Linked DNA regions of Homo sapiens: all the other regions are linked to region 2. The links are contacts of gene promoters, found by promoter capture Hi-C in blood cells and fetal thymus (Javierre and others, 2016). All regions are on one chromosome and are shown on one strand. The core of a region is centred on a gene start or on the middle of the fragment in contact, and the rest is flanking DNA. Distances in the headings are between cores, read along the strand shown.

What was found. The method cuts DNA at HindIII sites, captures the fragments that hold promoters and counts their contacts. A CHiCAGO score of 5 or more calls a contact.
Region 1: a fragment that was not itself captured here is called in contact with the fragment with the promoter of HPRT1 in region 2 in 1 of 17 cell types (neutrophils); the score reaches 6.8 in neutrophils.
Region 3: a contact is called between a fragment that was not itself captured here and the fragment with the promoter of HPRT1 in region 2, in 1 of 17 cell types (erythroblasts). The highest score is 5.4, in erythroblasts.

What each region holds. Positions count from the first base shown.
Region 1 is chrX:135,039,522-135,044,434 of GRCh38, reverse strand. No RefSeq gene overlaps it. Among named protein-coding and RNA genes, the nearest start is that of RTL8C, 9.6 kb to the right of the region's middle. The HindIII fragment of the contact is 5,942 bases long and covers 1-4,913 here.
Region 2 is chrX:134,457,404-134,462,025 of GRCh38, reverse strand. HPRT1 (hypoxanthine phosphoribosyltransferase 1) reads right to left here and starts at 1,861. Exons shown (of 9, transcript NM_000194.3): 1 at 1,688-1,861. The coding sequence starts at 1,714. RefSeq lists silencers at 1,590-1,769, 1,870-1,989. The HindIII fragment of the contact is 6,801 bases long and covers 1-4,622 here.
Region 3 is chrX:134,982,415-134,987,031 of GRCh38, reverse strand. No RefSeq gene overlaps it. Among named protein-coding and RNA genes, the nearest start is that of SMIM10, 6.3 kb to the left of the region's middle. The HindIII fragment of the contact is 252 bases long and covers 2,294-2,545 here.

The DNA of each region.
Region 1 (4,913 bases), core at 1,569-4,068, 580 kb before region 2:
ATGTCCCTAGTGGTCTTTTCCTGGAAGATATGAACATCAAGAATATAGGAAGTCCTAGCAAGAGCAATCAGACAAAACAAAGAAATAAAAGGCATCCAAAAAGGAAGAGAGGAAGTCAAACTATTTGTTTGTAGACACTATGATTTTACACCTAGAAAACCCCAAAGTCTCTGCCCAAAAGCTCCTGGATCTGATGAACAACTTCAGCGAAGTTTCAGGACACAAAATCAGTATACAGAAATCTGTAGCATTTCTATACACAAACAACATCCAAGCTGAGAGCCAAATAAAGAATGAAATCCCATTCACGATAGCCACAAAAAAATAAAATACCTAGGAATACAGATATCCAGGAAGGTGAAAAATCTCTACAACAAGAATTACAAAATACTGCTGAAAGAAATCAGAGATGACACAAACAAATGGAAAAACATTCTATGCTCATCTACAGAAAAAAATCAACATTGTTAAAATAGCCATACTGCCCAAAGCAATTTAAAGATTCAATGCTATTCCTATCAAACTACCAATGACATTTTTCACAGAACTAGAAAAATCTATTCTAAAATTTCTATGGAACCACAAAAGAGCCCGAATAGCCAAAGCAATCCTAAGCAAAAAGGACAAAACTGCTGGAGGCATCACACTACCCGACTTCATACCATTCGACAAGTCTACGGTAACCAAAACAGCATGGTACTGGTACAAAAACAGACACATGGACCAATGTAACAGAATACAGAGCCCAGATAGAAAACCACACAACTACAACCATCTAATCTTCGACAAAGTTGACAAAAACAAGCAATGAGGAAAGGAATCCCTATTCAATAAATGGTGCAGGGATAACTGGCTAGCATACGCATAAGACTGAAACTGGACCTCTTCCTTACACCATATGCAAAAGTCAACTCAAGATTGATTAAAGACTTAACTGTAAAACTTTAAACTATAAAACCCCTTGAATAAAACCTAGGAAATACCATTCTGAACATAAGTCCTGGCAAAGATTTCAAGATGAAGATACCAAAAGCAATTGCAACAAAAGCAAAAATTGACAAATGGGACCTAATTAAACTAAAGAGTTTCTGCACAGCAAAAGAAACTATCAACAGATAAACAGATGACTTACAGAATAGTAGAAAATAATCGCAAACTAGGCATCTGACAAAGGTCTAATATCCAGAATCCACAAGGAACTTAAACAATTTCAATGAGAAAAAAAAATCTCATTAAAAAGTGGACAAACAACATGAACAGACACCTCTCTAAAGAAGACATGCAAGCAGCCAATAAATAAGAAAAAAATGCTTAACATCACTAATCATTAGAGAAATGCAAATCAAAACCACAATGAGATACCATCCCACACCAGTCAGAATGGCTATTATTAAAAGGTCAAAAAATAAGAGAATGCTTGCAAGGTTGCAGAGAAAAGGGAACACTTATACACTGCTGGTGGGAATGTAAATTAGTTCAGCTACTGTGGAAAGCAGTTTGGCAATTTCTCAAAGAACTTAAAATAGAACTACCATTCAACCCAACAATCCCTTTATTGGGTACATGCCCAAAGGAATATGAATTGTTCTACCATAAAGACATATGCATGCATATGTTCATTGCAGCACTAGCAATAGCAAGGACATGGAATCAACCTAAATGCTCATCAATGGTAGACTCAATAAAGAAAATGTGGTACATATACACCATGGAATACTGGGCAGCCATAAAAAAGAATGAGATCACGTCCTTTGCAACAATAAGGAATGAGCTGGAGGCCATTATCTTAAGTGAACTAAAGCAGGAACAGAAAACCAAATACCACGTTCTCACTTACAAGTGGGAGCTAAACATTGAGTGCACATGAACACAAAGAAAGAAACAATAGACACCAGGGCCTACTTGAAGTTGGAGGGTGGGATGGGGGTGAAGATTGAAAAACTACTTATTGGGTACTAGGCTTATTACCTAGGCAACAAAATAATCTGTATGCCAAAGCCCTGCGACATGCAATTTATATAACAAACCTGCACAGGTACCCCTGAAACTAAAATTTTTTTTAAAAAAAGAACATATAAATAGTTGCCACCAGTCAATAAAATGAGAAACCAATAAAAAATAGGTGAGATTTTTGAATGAGTGTATTAGTTAATTTTCTGTTGCTTATAACAGAATACCTGAAACAGTGTAATTTTTTTTTTAATAATGTATTCTTACAGTTATGGAGGCAGAGAAGTCCAAGTCAAGGGGTCACAACTGATGAGACCCTTCCTGCTGGTGAGGACTGTTTGCAGAGTCCCAATATGGTGCAGGGTATCACATGGTGAAGGAGCTGAGTGTGCTAACTTGCAAGCTCAGATTTCCCTTTCCCTTTCTCTTCTTATAAAGCCACCAGTTCCTTTCCCAGAACAACCCATTAATCCATTAATCTATGAATGAATTAATCCATTTACTTTAAGAGATGATCCAATCACCTCTTAAAGGCCCTACCTCTCAATATTGCCACACTGGGGATTAAGTTGTGTTAGTCTGTTCTCATGCTGCTGTGAAGAAATACCCAAGACTGGGTAATTTATAAAGAAAACAGGTTTAATTGACTCACAGTTAAATTGACTCACAGTTCTGGGGAGGCCTCAGAAAACTTAGGATCACAGTGGAAGGCACCTCTTCACAGGGTGGCAGGATAGAGAATGAGAGCCAGATTCTCTCTTCCTCCTTCCTTCTTTTCTCACTTTCTTTCTTGAGTTCTTGCTTTCTTTTTTCTCCTTTCCTGCCTTTCTCCCTTCCTCCCTCCCTCCCTTCTCTCATTTCCTCCTTTTCTTTCTTCTTTCCTTCCTTCCTTCTTTTTTCTTTCTTTTCTTTCTCTTTACTACAATCCATATTATTTAAAAAAAAATTAAGAAAGAGAGGCAGAAAAATAAAGAACACTTTAATCTGCAGGTAAATAAAAAAAAAAAAAAAAAGAGAATGAGAGCCAGCAGAGAAAATGCCAGATGCTTATAAAACCATCAGCTCTTGTGAGACTCACTCATTATCATAAGAATAGCATGGGGAAAACCGCCCCCATAACTCAGTTACCTCCTGCTGGGTCCTTCCCACAACATGTGGGGATTATGGGGATTACAATTCAAGATGAGATTTGGGTTGGGGGGACACAGCCAAACCATATCAAGTTGCACCATGAGTTTTAGTGGGGACAAATATTCCAACCATAGTAATCGGCATTTCATTAAAAAGGGTAGCAAAGTGGGTAAAAAGCATATGAAGAGACACGCATTATCATTAGTAATAATAGAAATGTAATTTTTTTTTTAGAAACAGGGTCTCACTCTGTCACCCAGGCTGGAGTGCAGTGGCACAATCACAACTCACTGCAACCTGGACTTCCCAGGCTCAGGTGATTCTGTCAGCCTCTTGAGTAGCTGGGACTACAGGTGCATACCACCACACCTAGCTAATTTTTTTTTTTTTTTTTTTTTTTTAGAGATATGGTCTCACTATATTGTCCAGGCTGGTCTGGAACTCCTGTGCTCAAGTAATCCTCCCACCTCAGCCTCCCAAAGTGCTGAGATTGCAGGTGTCAGCCACTTCACTCAGCCTAGAAATGCAAATTTAGCACAATGAGATATCACCACAGACTTATCAACTTATACCTCAATAAATAAGAGTGAACACTTGAAACACACAACATAGATGAATCTCACAGACATACAGCATAAATTCTGTATAATTTCATTTACAAGCAGTTCAAAAACAGGTAAAGTTTATCTTTGGTAATAAAGGTCAGAAGAATGTTTATACATAAGAGGCTCCTGCCTGAGAGGGGGCATGAGAGTCCTTTTGAATGCTGGAAATGTTCTATACATTGATCTGAGTGGTGTTATACTGATGTATACATATGTAAATGTTCATCTAGTTATACACTTAAGATTTTTATCCTTTGCTGGATGTAACATATCTCAGTTTTTTTAATATCAGAAAAAGAAAAAGGATTGTATATTTAGATAAGCAGTAGAAAAGTTACAGAACACCAAACACAAAGAGATCTTTCAAACAACTAAAGAGGAAACACAAAATTAGGCTGACAAATAATTTTTTAATAGCAAAAATGGAAGCTAAAAGACTACAGAATAATGCTGTTTCCATCAATTCTATTCAAATTTGTCACTTTTTAATATCTCTTATATCAAGGTGTTTATTACAATCAATCAAAATTATGAATTGTTGTTGGCCCAGGGGCTGCTGTGACATAATAGTTACTGCCTGCTTACATGCAAACATTAAAAGCACCTGTATCAAAACTTGCCAAACTGATGACGATGGATTAACGGGAAAAATTTAGGACAAAAAAGTGAAATTGTCATTTAAGAACTATTGCATCACTAAGGTTTTGGTGGTACATAATACAATATTATATAGAAAAAAAGAGATATGAATGGTTCCACAAGTCAAAGAGACTCAACAAGAATAATTTTAAAAGAATGAGGATAAAATAACTTTTCAGAAAATGAAAGACATCACAGTTTCCCTAATAGACCATTATTAAAGGAGTATATCTATAGGATATACTTTAGAAGAAGGAAAATGTACTAGTATAAATGTCTGGAATGCTGGCAAAGAAAATGGCAAATACATGGCTAAATCTAAACAAACAATAGCATAAATGTCTAATTTGAAGATGAAAAAACAGAGCTAAAGTAATGAGAAGAAGAACATTTACCCTGGGAGGCAATTATTTGTAATTAAAACGTTCTAAGTTCCTTGTATTAATTCATTACTTTTTTCTACTCATTAAGAAGTTATACATTCTATTTACATTATTTTAGTGATCACTCCAAAAAGTTAATATGCATAGTTAACATATAAATTTAGTCAATACAAAGTAATTAAAGCAACACACTTGACAAAAAGTT
Region 2 (4,622 bases), core at 612-3,111:
GCACTCCATCCTAGGTGACAGAGTGAGACCCTGTCTCAAAAAAAAGAAATTGGCAGAATTAAGTAAGTTGATGTTTAGAGATGAAAAATCAACATTTTTTCCTCAGCAACTGAATAAAAACAACAGCCACTACCATTTTTTTGAGTACCTATTTGTAGCCTATTTTTTAACTGGTATTACTCGAGAGAGAGAGAGCTAGGTTCGAGACAGAGCTCCTTCTCTTAATAACTGTATGACCTAGGGTATGTCTGTTAGCCTCTCTGAGGCTTCAAAGGTTCCTCATCTGTAAAATGGTAATAATCATACCATTGCTACAGGGCTGTTTTGAAGACTAATTAGGACTATGTAAGTAAACATGATGATGGCTATTATTACTGTTCCCCGCCAGGGGCCATGCAAGGGTTGCTGATTCACATAGACTGTCTTATAATCCTCTCAATAACTCCAAGAGGTAGCCAGCACCTCAGATATACATAAAATGACTTAAGCCCAGAGAGGTGAAGTAAGTTGCCCACAGCCACACAACTAGTAAATAGCCCAAACAAGCTGGATTCCCAGTTAGACTCCGTTAATAGCACTGCTCTTTACCTTAAGTCATTACAATGCCTAATATGAAATAGAATCGCTTCTTTCTTAGGGTTCAAGTGGTTAATTATTTAATGTATTCATTCAACAAACCATCATCGAGGACCTCTTACAAGCCAAGTACTGTGCTAAGTGCTAGAGTTACGGCGGTGATTCCTGCCCTTAAAAAGTTTTAGTGGGAGAAACAACAGGTAACCAGGTCATTGCCAAAACAACAAAAATAATCATAATAAAGCAGGCTAAAGCATATTTAACTGGCCGGGGTTTTGACTATTTTAGCAAGCATGATCAGAACGGTTGAGGAGGGAGGCCAGCAGCTTGGCCGGTTCAACAAACAAGAAAAAACCAGTGAGGGTGGAGCTAAGATACCAGAGGCTGATTACGGTTAAGAATGTTCTTGAAGGTAAGGACCAGATTCTCATTTTCTATATCCTGGGGCATCGGTCAGCATGGAATCTGGATTCTAGCACATGTGAATTTCGGCTTGAAATGACCTAATGCCTTTTCCCTAGTTCCTTCGTGTGTCAAATACGCATGGTTACCGCTACCAGAGCTGTAGTGGGGCTTCAATGAGGCCATGAGCATCTCCATAAAGATGAACTACAGTGTGTGCAAAACTAAAGGCAAAACCTGGTCCCCACACGCCCTCCCAGGTGGTCGCTTTCCGTGCCGAGGCCCCTCCAGAGGTGCCCCGAGAACCTCACCATCGCACCCCAAACTTCCAGGGAAGGGCCTCTCCCGAGAAAGCCCCCACGCCCCCACCCCGCGCCATCATTCCCGAATCTGCCCTCGGCCCCTCCCCGCAGCACGCTCGCAGGCGGCACATGTCAACCAAAACGCCATTTCCACCTTCTCTTCCCACACGCAGTCCTCTTTTCCCAGGGCTCCCCCGAGGAGGGACCCACCCCAAACCCCGCCATTCCGTCCTCCCTGCCGCCCTCGCGTGACGTAAAGCCGAACCCGGGAAACTGGCCGCCCCCGCCTGCGGGGTTCCCTGGGCCCGGCCGCCCGAGCCCGCACTGCGGATCCCGCGCCTCAGGGCCCGGCCGCCACCTGCCGCGTGGGCCTGAACCGGCCAGGGCCGGCAGGCCGAGCTGCTCACCACGACGCCAGGGCTGCGGGTCGCCATAACGGAGCCGGCCGGCGCGCGGGCTGACTGCTCAGGAGGAGGAAGCCGGTGGCGGAGCAGAGGAGGAGGCGGAGGCGCAGCAAGAGGCGGCGCCGCGCGGGAAAGCCGAGAGGTTCGCCTGAGGGCTCGTCGCAGCCGCCTGAAGCTGAGGAGAAGCAGGCCCCGCCCTCTGCCCGCCCCGCCACGCCCCGCAGGCCCCGCCCCCGGCCCCGCCCGCGCGCCTACGCCGGCGCCTACCAGTTTGCAGGCTCACTAGGTAGCCGTGGGAATTTTCTCCCAGAAGAAGCCGAGGCTCCCCCAGCGAAGCCCCTTTCCCTCCCAACTCAGTCTCCTATTCAGAGGGCTCCCTGATTCCCAAACCTACCGGCGCGCGTTGCTTCATGGCGGCCGTAAACCGGGCCCCGGCTCTTCGGGTTCCAGTCATCGCGTGAATCCTTGGACCAGACGTCCCATTCCCAAGACCTTGCACTACCTGTGGCTTCCATTTTCCTGACTCTTGGCCCAGTGCTTCCCCAAACCCTTAACTGGTTGTAACAGTTGAGACCTAGAGTCCTAGAGTCACCCAGATCAGGGTACACATCTGAGAGGACACTTAACTGCTCTGTAGTTTTGTACAAATCAGACTCTGAGCCTCTATTTTTGCCTCACTAAAATGAGCATATTAGCCCGGCGCGGTGGCTCATGCCTGTAATCCCAGCACTTTGGGAGGCCGAGGCAGGTGGATCACTCAAGGTCAGGAGTACGAGACCAGCCTGGCCAACATGGCGAAACCCCATCTCTACTAAAAATACAAAAATTAGCTGGGCGTGGAGGCGGGCGCCTGTAATCCCAGCTAGTCCGGAGGCTGAGGCAGGAGAATCACTTGAACCCGGGAGGCGGAGGTCGCACTGAGCTGAGATCGCACCACTGCACTTCAGCCTCCGCGACAGAATGAGACTCCGTCTCAAAAATAAATAAAAATAAAAATAAATAAAAATTTAAAAATAAAATGAGCATATTAACAATACATAAACAGGATCATTTTGAGTATTAGAGGAGTATAGGTATGCGTGTGTGTATGTATATATATATGCACTTAGGACAGTACAGTCAGCAAATGGGAACTACTGTTATTACTACTGATCTTTATTTTTGCCCACACAAGTTCTTATATTGAATCTGAAAACAAAAATATGTTCCCCTGCTAATTAATTCTCAGATAGGTCAGGTAAGCAAGCAACAGTTGCTCCAGCAACACCATTTCTTATATACTCAACCCTATAGCTCCAGCATCCACCACAGTGCCCAGCACATAGTTGGTGGCCTCCCTCTTATTAAGGACGCTGAGGGGTATGTGATGGCAGGAGATTTGTAAAACTAGGCAAGTCATTGAGCTTCTCTGGACCTCAGTCTCTTCATCTAAAAAATGAGAATAATAAACCTGGGTAACATGGTGAGACTCAGTCTCTACAAAAATGAAAAATTATCTGGGCCTGGTGGCCATGTGCCTGTAGCCCCAGCTACTTGGGAGGCTGAGGTGGGAGGATGGCTTGAGCCCAGGAGGTCCAGGCTGCAGTGAGCCAAGACTGTGCCACTGCACTCCAGCCTGGGCAACAGAGAAATATCCTGTCTCAAGAAAAAAGAAAAAGAGAGAGAGAGAGAATAATAACTACTGCCATGAAGAGTTTTACGAGAATTCTAAAAATCATTTATGTAAAGTACCTCATATAGTATTTGCCACATAATAGGTGCTCAAGAAACAGTAGCTGTTATAATTTTAGCATGTATGAATTTGTGAAGTCCATACTTCCCTACTTTCCCTGTCTTCCCTCTTTATCCTGGAGAGGCAGCAGGCTGTAATGGAAAAGGGATGTATGGGCTTTGGACTGAGTTCAAATCCTGGGTTCCCCACTATTATAGCATTTTGACTTTGGGCAAGATCCTTGGTCCCTGCGTGCTTGGTTTCTTATACGTCAAATGAGGTTAATATCTCTGTCACAGAGTGTGGTGAAGATTAAACAAAATAATATATGCAAAAGTGCCTAGCATAGAGCTTGGCTCAATACATGATGATACCAATGTTACGTGTTCCATAATAATTTTGCCTTAAACAGTTCACTTTCTTCTAGCCTCTAAGACTTTTTTTTTTTTTTTTGAGACAGAGTCTCGCTCTGCTGCTCTGCTGGAGTGCAGTTGAATGATCTCAGCTCACTGCAACCTCTGCCTCCCGGGTTCAAGCAATTCTCCTGCCTCAGCTTCCCGAGTAGCTGGGACTACAGGCGTGTGACACCAGACCTGGCTAATGTTTGTATTTTTAGTAGAAAATGGGGTTTCACCATGTTGGCCAGGCTGGTCTTGAACTCCTGACCCCAGGTGATCCGCCCATTTTGGCTTCCCAAAGTGGTGAGATTACAGATGTGAGCCACCACGCCCAGCCTGCCTCTAAGACTTCTTATCCATTCCCCTGTTGATGGACATTTGGGCAGTTTCCAGGTTTGGGCTATTAGAAATAATGCTACTATGAACATTTTGTACATATCTTTTGGTGAATATATGAATGCATTTCTATTTGGCATAGAACTTGAAATTCATATTAGAACATTTTCATTACTTATCCTTTTAACAAACATTGTGTTCTATCAGGAAGTTAATTCAGAGAACTTCCGGTTATATATTCGTCCCCTGACACATGTGGTCTCAGCTACTCAAATTTGTTTCTAAATTAGGTACCCAACAATTCAGAATCCTTCCAGCTTGCCTCTGGCTTGCAGTTCCTTTCTCCAAATCCTGCAGTACCAGATACTCCTGTATTTTAATAGTGGATTTGAAACAAATAATGATAGCCAGATGATTGTAAAAACAAAGAAACAGTACTGTTCTTTCAATCTTGTCATTCTGTGTGACAATTTGGACTTTTTATTTGTATTTA
Region 3 (4,617 bases), core at 1,170-3,669, 520 kb before region 2:
TCTCTTTGGAAAATTATACAAGTCATCTTTTGCTCTTCTTTCTCACGGTAGAGTGCATATGCCTTGATTCTTTTGTCTGAACCACTCACTCTATATATACGGGAAGAGGCCAGGCATGGTGGTTCACGCTTGTAATCCCAGCACTTTGGGAGGCCGATACAGGAGAGTTGTGTGAGCTCAGGAGTCCAGAACCAGCTTGGGCAACATAGGGAGACTTTGTCTCTATTTCAAAAAAGAAAGAAAGAGAAAGAAAGAAAGAAAGAAAGGAAGGAAGGAAGGAAGGAAGGAAGGAAGGAAGGAAGGAAGGAAGGAAGGAAGGAAGAAAAAAGAAAGAAAGAAAGAAAGAAAGAAAGAAAGAAAGAAAGAAAGAAAGAAAGAAAGAAAGAAAGAAAATAAATAAATAAATCAGCCACTCGTGGTGGCACATGCTTGTAGTAGTCCCAGCTACTCAAGAGACTGAGGCGGTAGGATTGTTTGAGCTTAGGAGATCAAGGCTGCAGTGAGCTATGATCTCACCACTGCACTCCAGGCTCGGTGACAGAGCAAGCTTCTCTCTCTCTCTCTCTCTCTCTCTCTATATATATATATATATGTATATATACACACACATATATATGTTATTTACATATGCTTATGTATGTGTGTACATATATACATACATATACATGTACATATAGGAAGAATATAGTACATATACGTATAATTTTTTGCACTGCTACCATTGATCTATAGATAGTAGATTAAAATGTAATCTGAGGTTGTTGTGGTGCAAGATACTCAATTGAACACAGGTATTTACCTTCCCAAAACAAATAGAAACAATTATAAAGAAGTATAAATTCATTCATAAAAGCAGTGGAGAGGGTGAGGATGGCAGAGCAAAGACTTTGATAGCTTCCTGAAATGAATGCTGAGTGGATCAAACTGAAAAATAAATCAGAGTATACTGCACCAATGATTCTCAGGAAAAGGCTGCAGCATAGGTGGAAGCCATTTTCATGGAAGAAGCACCCTCTGCTCTCCAGGTACAGAGAGTGGAAGTGGGAGGATCACATAAAATCAGATGATTATTTGAAGAACTATTTGGATCTATTTCTTTTCTCTTGAATCTGCTGTGTGACTTGCTTTGGTCAATGGGACATTGGCTAAAATGGTGCACGCAAAAGCTGGAAAAGTGCTTTTGCATTGGGGCTTGCTAGTCTTGGAAACCTGCTGCTATCATGCAAACAAACCAGATGTCGAGAGATACATGCTCCAACCATCCCTTTTGGCCCAACTCATGGCCAACCAATCCCTAGAAGTAGTGTCACTGAAACCAACAGCAGCAGACCACAGACATATGAGTGAGTTCAGCTGATGCAAGCAGAAGACTAGCCCAGCTGAGCCCAGCCCAAATTGTCAACCCCCAACAATCGTTAACTAAATAAATGGTGGTTGTGTAAGCTTTCGGTGGTTTGTTTCACAGCAAAAACTAACTGATAACCATGTCCCAGAATAGAGCTACTGAATGACAATCAAAATGGCTTGACCCACAGTGATCTGTCATGCAATTAATTAATCATAGGAACCCTAGGACTGATATACAGACTTGATCTGCTTAACCAAAGGAATTTTGGCAAACAGAAAGTTGGGTCACCATGATAGAGTGTCACAGCTCCTCAGTTCATATACCCAGATTCCCTAGAATAAAAGGGAGACTGAGTACCTTGAGGAAGGATGCTATGGCAACATTGCAATTATGTACTATAAATATTCCCAGCTATCCCCAGAAGAGGTCTGCAGCAATTTACCAAGGTAAATGTTCAAATACACGCACTCTTCGGGGATTATGGGACAATAGCTCTGAGCTGCCACTAATCCTGGGAACTCGGAACAACACTGTTGCCCACAGTCAGAGTGAGGGCTTGTGAAGATCAAATGATAATTGGAGTTTTGGCCTAAATTCAACTCATGGTGGGCTCAGTGGGTCTATAAATCCACTCTGGTGATTTCCCCAGTTGCTGGATTTACAGTTGTAATCAATAAAACTAGCAACTGGCAAAACAGCTCAATTGGCTTCCTGACCTGCAGAGTGAGAATCTTTATGATAGGAAGGGCCAGGTGGAAGCCTGGAACTTACTCTCCCTTCCAATTATAGCAGTGATAGCAAACACATGCATAGCACTTATTACATGCCAGACACTCTTTCAAGCACTTTCCATATGTTAACATATTATTCCTCAAAACAGCACTACAAGGTAGGTACTATAATTGTACACATTTTACAGAAAAGGAAATTAAGGCATTAAAAGCTTAAGTAACTTGCCCGAGGTCACTACTTAGTAATTGGTAGAACTGGAATGTAAACCAGAAACTAGCTTCAGAGTTCATGCTCTCAACCACTGTGCTACACTGTCAAAATAGTAAACCAAAATCAATAGTACATGCAAAGGAAACTGACAGAAATTAGGGCCATCATCAAGACTCAGAAAATTAAGGAGTAGTGATCCCTATTACATTCCTTTTTGATGAACCTGTTTCACTAGAGAAGAATACAGAGGAAGCTTAAATTAGAAGTGGTATATATGGATTGGCCTTGAACAGGTTCTGGAGGCACAACAAAGGTACCTAAGCAGTGGCTCACACTTCCAGTGTGTTCACACCTGCCACACTGCCTTCTCTTTCGCAACCCACACTTACAGTTTCATGGGGACTGCTTTGGGCTGAGTTGTGTCCGTGCCAGATTCATATGTTGAAGCCCTAACCCCCAGAATCACAGAATGCGACTATATTTGGAGATAGGGTTTTTAAAGAAGTAACTAAGGTTAAATGAGGTCATTAGGGTGGACCCTAATCCAACATCACTGATGTTCTTCTAAGAAGAAGGGATTAGGACACAAACACACACATAGGGAATACCATGTCAAGACACATGGAGAAGACGGCCACCAATAAGCCCAAGAATAGAGGCCTTCAGAAGTGACTCAGTCCATTCCTGCCACTATGACAAAATACCTTAGACTGAGTAATTTAAAAATAATAGAAATTTATTTCTCACAGTTCTGGAGCCTGGGAAGTCCAAGATCAAGTTGACAGCAAGTTCGTTGTCTAGTAAGGGCCTGGTGTCTGCTTCCAAGACGGCACCTCGAACACTGTTTCCTCACATGGCAAAAGGGACAGAAGGGCAAAAGGGCCTAGCTAGTTCCCTCAGCCCTTTCACAAGGCACTGATCCCATCCATGACAGCAGAGCTCTCGTGGCCTAATCACCTCCTAAAGGCCTTACCTCTTAATACTCTTGCATTGGGGATTAAGTTTCAACATTAATTCTGGAGGGAACACAAACATTCAAATTGTAGCAAAAAGAAACCAATTCAGCTGACAGCTTGATCTTGAACTTCTAGCCTCCAGAACTGTAAGGAAATACATTTCTGTTGTTTAAGTCACCTGTCTGTGGTACTTTGTTATGGCAGCCCTAGCAAACTAATACAGGGACCTCTGTATAACCAGCTATTTGAAGAGTAGAACATCTAAACCTATTTTAGCACATTTCTGCATGACCTAAGGGCACCAGCCAGAGCACATTGTTGTAGATCACAGCCCCACACAGGGGTAGCCCGGAAGGTCACTGAAGAAGAGTCTTTTCTGAGAACATAATTTCAAGTGGTATATCTGGTTGTTCACTTTGCTTGGAAGGAGAAGTGGCCTAAGGTATGGCTCTATACCATATGGTTCAGGGACTTGGAATGAACAAAATTTATAGTATTGGTAACAAGAAGGTTTTGGGGAAGTGGTATGTGGTTGGACCTCTACTAATGGTAAATACATTTGTGTTCCATATAAGTGCCCAACAGAGGGCATCAACTGTGATGGAGGGTATCGATAACTATGTGAACAAGATTACTTGCATTAGAATGTCAACCTCTTTCCCCAACTATCTTGAAGCTTACTCAAGGGGCCAATGTACAAAATGCCCATGGCTGCAGAGATGAAGGCTCTACATGGGCTCAATTGCATGGGCTTCCCCTCACCACGGCTGATCATAAAAGTTGTGTGTCCAATCCCAACTTCCCAGCAGCAGAGGCCAATACTGAACCTCCAGTATATACCACTTCCTTGTGTGGGAGGGCGAGGGGACTACAACCAGCCATCTTGTGGCAGGCTGTTCATAAGATAATAACTTATGGGGCTGCTCTGCCTAAGGAGTAGCCATTCTTTATTCTTTTACTTTCTTAATAAATTTGCTTTCACTTTGCTCTAAAACAAAAGATAATAACTTATGGGACTTTGGGCATCCTTTTTGGGGGAGAAGTCAGGTTTGATTTGTTTTGGTTCCCTTCCATTGTGCAGGGGACTGCAGTATCAATTTGCTTTCCTTGACTGCAACACTTCAACCAGCAACACTTTCATGGGCGTATTCACAATTATGATATTTCATACCATACTGCTTATGAATAAAGAACTCATTTTATAGCAATAGGAGGTAAGAAAGGCCTAAACAGAATTCACACTAGTTGTACCTTATTCTTCATCATCTAGAATGGTATATTGCCTATTTAACATCCGTTTTCAAATATTTTCTTCCTGTCCCCTTGATTTTGTCCTCTGCTGATTTAGAGATCTGATTAAGGAAGGATAAC